2 separate regions of the Homo sapiens genome follow, and region 1 is linked to region 2. Evidence: promoter capture Hi-C in 16 types of primary human blood cells and fetal thymus (Javierre and others, 2016). All regions are on one chromosome and are shown on one strand. The core of a region is centred on a gene start or on the middle of the fragment in contact, and the rest is flanking DNA. Distances in the headings are between cores, read along the strand shown. Region 1 overlaps LBH (LBH regulator of Wnt signaling pathway). Region 2 holds the start of LCLAT1 (lysocardiolipin acyltransferase 1).

The links. Contacts are between HindIII fragments. The CHiCAGO score rates a contact against its expected background, and 5 or more counts as called.
Region 1: a fragment that was not itself captured here is called in contact with the fragment with the promoter of LCLAT1 in region 2 in 1 of 17 cell types (non-activated CD4 T cells); the score reaches 6.5 in non-activated CD4 T cells.

What each region holds. Positions count from the first base shown.
Region 1 is chr2:30,233,412-30,237,184 of GRCh38, reverse strand. It overlaps LBH (LBH regulator of Wnt signaling pathway), which reads right to left. Exons shown (of 3, transcript NM_030915.4): 2 at 2,678-2,780. Among named protein-coding and RNA genes, the nearest start is that of LBH, 3.8 kb to the right of the region's middle. RefSeq lists a silencer at 749-956. The HindIII fragment of the contact is 4,276 bases long and covers 1-3,773 here.
Region 2 is chr2:30,445,294-30,448,986 of GRCh38, reverse strand. It overlaps LCLAT1 (lysocardiolipin acyltransferase 1), which reads right to left and starts at 1,741. Exons shown (of 6, transcript NM_001002257.3): 1 at 1,604-1,741. RefSeq lists enhancers at 577-1,313, 1,511-1,630, 1,841-1,900, 1,941-2,010, 1,314-2,051. The HindIII fragment of the contact is 6,952 bases long and covers 1-3,693 here.

The DNA of each region.
Region 1 (3,773 bases), core at 717-3,216, 210 kb after region 2:
AAAAGCCACGTACTATTATTATCCTTAGGAGGAATGCCAAGAACAGAGCTCCGAGATCCCCTGCCCCCAGGCCTGAGCCGAGCCTGAGCATGCAAAGGGAAGGGGCTCCAGCCAAGTGCCAGTCCCAGCCAATCCCCAGAGCTCTGGTGGGAATGTGTCTAATTGGACGGCACTAGCTTTGAGTGGGCCCGGAGAATATCTGTCACACCGCAATGGTCAGACCAGCTCACTGCACAGCCCTGCCCCTGGCATAAACAGGGGCAAGCCCAGGGGTATCTGAAGGTGCAAGAACATTACCTTAGAGATGGAACTGCCCTCTCAAAGTCCTAATTTTCTTTCAGAGCCCAGCCCCAGTCTGCCCTCCCTCTGATTCTGTCGGCTGGATTTCATTGTTGCTGTCGATGCCTGGACTCACTGTAGCTTCTGTATGTCCCCCACCTGGACTGACTGCACCACCTGTGTTCCAGATGTTTATGTAGATGCTGGGTTCTTACAAGGGCCCTGGACCCTGGGCACAGAGGCCAGCACAGCAGGTTGCACAGGGAAAGTGCCCCTAAATGTTGCTTGGTTAAATACTACAATCTCCCTTTCCTCTTCACCAGGCAACCAAGAGACCTTTCTGAAATCAGAAAAGCTGTGAAAAATTGTGACCAGAGTGCTCTGAAGTTCCAAGTAAGATATTTTGGAACTGGGGAGTGGTCCCCACCAAGGTAGCAGAAACAGATTTCCTGGGAGGGGGCTCTGAGAACTGGGCCCTCAGTCCAGCACCACAAGGGAAGATGTGTGGATCCTTTGCTCAGGCAGTGCTGAGATGTGTCAGGCACCCAGAGGTGATTTTATTTTCCTGCTGCCCTTGCAGCCCCAGGTTGGCCTTCCTCCCCCAGCTCCTTCCTCCCTCACCACCTGCCCTGAGTCTCAGGTCCAGCAGAATGGCCTGAAGGACTCGAAGCATTGAGAAAACGGCCCTATAGGGCCTGGCCCTTTATCCTGGGATGTATTTAAAAGGAAAATATGAAAAGCACACACAAGATGAACAGATGACTGCATTTGGAAAGGTTCTGTGATGGAAATCTAAAACCCAGAACCGAAAGAGAACCTCACCTGTAACCACAAAGAGATTCATTCTGACTCAGGGGCTTGGAAACTGCTACCCAAAACCCCCTGGCTGGTGGGCCAGGAAACTTCTACCCCTCCCACCAGGTTGAGGGGCCCTCAATTGTCTTCCTCAGACCCACTCTGGGGGAGGAGGGTAGAAAAGTCAAACGTAGCAAAGAGAGTTCCCCCTTGCTCCACACACCCCCTTCAAGCTAATGGCTACTTATTTCAAGACAGGCCTGCCAATATAGACAACACAAAGGGGCCTCCTTAGCCTCCCAAGCATGTCTGAAGTTAAGTGACCCTGCCTGAACTTTTAGCTTGGTTCTATCTGATTACTTTCCCTCCATGGCACCCACCCTGGCTCCCTGGCTTTCTATTTGATTTTTTTTTTTTTTTAATTTACAAAATAAATGTCCCTGGAACAGTTCTAAGGAATGACCAGCCAGAGTCAACCTAGACCCTAGCGGAACCAAGCCATGGTGTGGACACACAATACATCAGAAGAACAAGGCTCTGGGGTTAGACAGACCCAAGTCACTGACTCAGGCTGAGCCATTTCCTCATCTGTGAACAGGGTGAGGATCCCCGCCTGGGAGCTGTGGTAAGATGTGAGCAAGGCAGCGTCTGTAGAGTGCTTGGCGTGCAGTGGGCATACCTTCATGTCTGTAGCACGGACCCATGGACCCATCACACTCCCTTTCGACTTCCCTGGGCTGGCCATCCTACACAACTTCCCTAGCTCCAAGGTCTTCCTTAAGAAGAGACTCCTCCCTCCCCCCAGTTTAACAACATAGGAACTCTCCTCCAAAACCCCAAACCAGCTCACAGCCCAGAGGGAACTGCAGGTGCTCCATTGCTCCCACCCCCAACCCAGGGGCAGTAGAGAGGCAGCAGGGCAAGCCAGAGAGAGGGCTGGGGTAAGAGTCCAGAGGGCTCACTCTGGTCCCTTTTTGTGATCCTTGTGCATTTTGGATCCACCAGACAGGATGATCTCCAAGCAAGATCCCAGCAATAGCATCCCTGAGCTAGCCTCCCTTTGGGGAAAATATCTTCCTCTCTAAGTGGTTTGAATGTTAACTCTGAATCAACAGGTCAATAATCAACCCAAGGAAGAAAGCAGCATTGGACATGGCTATCCCCACCAGACCACCCTTCTGCAGAAGCCCCCGACAGCAATGCTTCTACTACCCCAGGCATGGCTGGGAAGGAAAGTTCTGGTCTCAATCGACTAAACAAATCATTTCCTCCTTTGCTGCGGTGAATGGCAAAGTTCACAGAGCCAGTAGGGTCAATTCATCACAATGGCTAATGCTTGCTGAGCCCTTATCTGTCCCAGACACTAGGAATGCTTCCTACACATCCACTTGTCATGGTGAATCTTTACCACAATCTTAGGAGATAAGGACGATTGTTGCCCCATTTTACAGATGAAGAAACTGAGGCTTACTGGCATTAGGGGACTCTGCCACAGTCCCACAGCTCTTATATGTGGCACTGGGATGCAAAACCAAGTCTGTCCTCACCCCCAGCAAAAACCACTAGGCTCTAGAGAGTCAGAGGGGAGCCAGGACTTACTCACCTGGTAGGAAAGGCCATCCTTGCGGGGGCTGAGGCCGATCTCCTCCATGGGCTGGGTGTTCATCATCACCTCAGTCATCTTGGCCGATCTCAGATAGTCGGGGCTGCCAAGAAACCCAGACCAAAAGTCAACAAACACACGCGCTTTCACATTCCTAACTCTTCATGCATTCACTGCTGTGGGATCAGGGGACTGTCTGGAGACAGGAAGAGAGGTGTTCAAAACAGAACTTGCAGCAAAACAAGCTCACACCCTGAGGAAGCGCCTTGCAAGCCCACAGCCCCAGGGCTCAGCCGCAACAGACAAAGCCCATTGTCTGCAGACCTCTCTGGCAAACCTCTTCCCTCCTCTCCTGTACTCTAGTCCCCACTGGCACAGAGGGACCCTGAATGTTTCTTTAAATGACAGAACCAGAGAAACCAAAACAGTAGGTAGCTGAGTCCATCTGTCTATATTAAAACCAATTCAACCACATCTCCCTTCACTTCTCCAACTAAGAATAAAAATAATCCTCACATGAACTTTCCAAAGGGGAACTCTATATATTATTAATACACAATAACAATAACAGGTCAACTGGAGGGAAACAAAGTCCAATCATACAGCTTTCCTAAATTTGTCTCTCTGGTGCTCCTTTTGGCAAAATGTTCCACTTAAAGCCCCAAGGGGTCAGCTTTTCTGCAAGTTTCACATCTGCCATCCATCCCCTTTCTCTAGCCCCAGACACAGCAGCTGCATGCTCACAGCTTGAAAAACATCCCCTGGATTAAAAGCCTTAAGGATACCCGACTCTGACTGCAAAGGAAATTTCCAGAGGGGCCAAGCTGGCCCACCAATGGCTGACATGTGAAAGTGCCTTGTACTCTCTAAGCAGGATACGAATATTCCCTTATCCTTGCACAAACTCTGGGCACATACAGGATCCCGTGCACATAATGCTGAACATAAGCACCAAATACAGGTACCTGCTACACAGCACCCAATGCTTTCCACCATCGTGCCTGTGCACATGGTTTAAAACAAAAATATGGGGGAGTCTTTTGAGGGACAGTATCTAAGGAAACAGGGGTACCAGATGCCTCTTCAATTGTATGGT
Region 2 (3,693 bases), core at 492-2,991:
GAATGCAGAGGAATAAATTTCAAATATTTTCACTGTTTTTTTAACTTTTTAAAGCCCTTTCACACATACTGTCTTTTCTTTTTCCTCCCAACAGTGCAATGAGATTGTTTGAATAAGAAATACTCACTTTAGAGATAAGACACCAATAGTGAAGTTGTATGATTACCCTAAGATATTTTTAAGTGGCAGAGTTTGGACTAGAATCCACCCATAACCTCAACCCCAGGACAAACTGACCAAATCTCCATGGATCCAGTTTGGAAGAATCTTTTGGGTTTTCCCCATTGCTTCCTCCTGGTTGTCAGCAACAGCCAGCCTAAAGACCTGGTGGGGGCAGATGCAGACGACCATGTGTTCAAATTAAAAAGTAGGAGAAGCCTAGCTTTCACAGAAACTGACACATAGTTGGCACTCCAGAGATTGCAGCTATTGATGACTGAAACACAAGCGCTATTACGTTTTTCTCAGTTACAGAACAAGGTACTACTCCATAAAATCAAGCCTACTACCAAAAACAAAAGTCAGTTAACATTATGCTTATCTGTCATATCAAGCATATCAAAGTACAATGTGCAACAGAAACCTAAACGAAAAAGTGATGATGTATTTTTACTTACTCTCAAAAAATATGTTTTACAAAAAGGGCTTTCATCAAGTCAGTTTTTTGAAAACTAACCCACGTAGTTATACTTCATGAGATGACGTTTCTTTGAACAAATAAGTTAATGATATGAATAAATATTTCATCTTGGTAATGCCTTCAACACATATCTTCAATACTTTTCTTGGACTTAAAGTGACTTCAATCCCTAATCTCATCTACTGCCATGTACACAAGAAACACAGTTAATGAACTTTAAAGGCAGATGCAGTATTTCCAGGGAAGCCACCTGAACCAGGGAAGTACAAGAAAGCAAAACATCTCCACAACCACATCTAAGTGCCTTATCTTTCAACTTCTTTTCTTCAAATGGGCAATTAGAAGCTACGATACACCTTAAAGATCAGGTTTGGCATCCGCCCTGGCTAGGGCCTACCTTTCTTTTCGCGGCACTGCCACTCTGGCACCTACAGGCAGGCCTTTGGCGCCTGCAGGACTCGCAGGGAAGACAACCCCAGCCCCTGCTCTCCACGGCTCTCGTCGAAGCCCCGCACGTGGTGACCACTTGAGACGTTTTAGTGCATGGGATTTAACAGGGTCAGACCTCAGGTTGCGTTCCGGGACAGTGCAGCTCCCAGACCCGCTGAGGTCGCAGGAGGAAGGTTTTGACGCTCCTAGCGTAAACACCGACGGGACCCTCTTCGCCCCGCGGCTACCTCGCCCTCGCCGCTCGCGCGGCCCCTCAGCACCTGACGCCTCAGCCAGCCTCCAGGAGTCGCTTCCCCGCGCCTCCTTCCACCTGAGCCAGCGACGCTACCGCCACCTGCACCGGGACCCCAAATGCCAGGCCAGTGGCCGTTACCCGAGGTCGCGGCCCGGGGAAGGTCCATGGCTCAGGAGGAAAAGCCCGGGCTGCAGCTCCCCTTCCTGCACCTCTGAGATCCCCCGGCCGCCGCCATTTTCCTCGCGCCGTAACCCCACCTGATAGTTCCAGCCTCCCACCTGTGACAAGCAGGGCACGCCGCGCGACGCCGAGTGGGGTGCGTGGGCAAGCTGGGGCTCCGTAGGGGTCACAACCTCCGTGCGGAACCCGCCGTTAATTCATCCCGTAACGCGGAGGCGTCCGGCCGTCGCCCTAGTAATGCGTCCCGGAAGGCTACGTCCTGATTGGCTGCAGGCGCCGTGACGCAACGGCGTCCCCGGCTGCGTGGGAAACCCGGGTCCCCGGCGCCCCGCGCTTGCTCCACAGCCCGGGATACCCCGGGTACCTTTCTTTGAGAGCTCCTTTAAAGAGGCCTCGCTTATTTCCTCGTCTGGCCTCCTGGAGAGGAGGGACCCACGGAACGGTGGGGTGTAGGGGTGAGAAAACAACGAAATAGGAAATTAGCGGAGGTCATTTGTCCGAGGGAACCTAATGGTTCATTCAACCCCTAGAGCTGCAAAATGGAAAACAGAAATCTGGGAGTTTAATTTACAAGCCTAAATTTGGTGCGCGAAGTCACAGGACAAATCAGTAGTAGAAGCAGTTATAGAACCCAGGTTCCCTGATCAGGAGCACAAAGTTTTTCTAGCACACTCAGTGTTTCCCCAGTCCTAGAAAATGTTTCCTCCCAGTTCCCATAGCAATTTCATCACACTGCTCTTAAAAGGTCTCGATCACCTATCATGGTGTGTCTGTCCTGTCCCCTAACCTACTAGATTGCATGCCCCTGAATGGTGGGGACTGTGGTTAAACCCCTTTTCATTTCCCTTAAGCAATTCCCTCCTCAACTTGGCCTTCAACAAATACAATAAGAATCTTAAAAATAATAAACATAGCTACACATCACACACAGCCACTCATCAGTAGTTCATGTATGTCTATACGTTTTATCCGTTTATTCAACAAAGCACAGAGTGAATATTTTTAAAATTACAAGGTTCCTGACCTCACAAAATTTATGGTGTAATAATAATGACCATCTACATGTTGGCTGCATAGCTTCAATATAGCTAAATTATATCCCCAAATTGCCTGTAAATCAAAGATTCTTGTGCTCTTTTCCTAAATTAGCTTCATAATTTCTCTAAGTTTGTTCCAAAACATTTTAATATTTAAGATGTGCTAAAATTGCATCAGAAAGTGAAGAATGACTACAGAGAGAAACACCAGAACAAAAGTCAATTCTGCCAATTATGCCTATGACTTTAGGCCTCCTTTTTACCTTTAAAATAAGATTACTGGAATAAAAGATCTCCCAATTCTTTTTTGTTGTTGTTAAGAGTTGGCCTGGCTATGCTCCAGAACCTTCAAGGGCTCTACTGTGGTTCTTTGGGGGCTTGCCGGAGGTTCCTCATAGCCTTTGCAGCTCCATTGCAGAGAGCTCTAGCATTGTGAGGTGTGTCCGGTGATACAGCCCAAGAGGCAAGGTTGCCCTTACCGCCCTAACCACAGAGGACAGTGCTGGGCTCTTTCTTTTTTCTTTTCTTTGCTTTTTTTTTTTTTTTTTTTTTTTTTGAGACAGGGTCTCGCTCTGTCACCTAGGCTGGAGTGCAGTGGCATGATTGTGGCCCACTACAACCCCTGCCTCCTGGACTCAAGCAATCCTCCCACCTCAGCCTCCAGACTAACTGGAACTACAGGCATCTGCCACCATGCCCAGCTAATTTTGTGTTTTTTGTAGAGACAGGATTTCAACATGTTGCCAGGCTGGTCTCGAACTCCTGAGCTCAAGCTATCCACCCACCTTGGCCTCTCAAAGTGCTGGGATTAGAGGCTTGAGCCACCGCGCCTGGCCCTGAGCCCGTTCTTGATCTGAGCTACTGATCAGTAGCCACCTTCCACGTCAACTGCTAAAGGGATAGGAACAGAATTCCCAAGGGCAAAATATGCTGATTTCTAAACTCAGAGATCTGCTAAGTGTCATGCTTCTTTCTTTTTGGCAGAGGTGCAAGGTGTAGTAACATGTTTTTCATTCTGGGGAAAATGTCTTGACGTGCCCAAGATCATTGGACCACTTCAGCATCCAAAATGATGTATAGTTTACATAATGCTATTGTACCAGGATCATTCTTTGTTTTGATACATGTTCTATGCTTACACAAGATGTTGA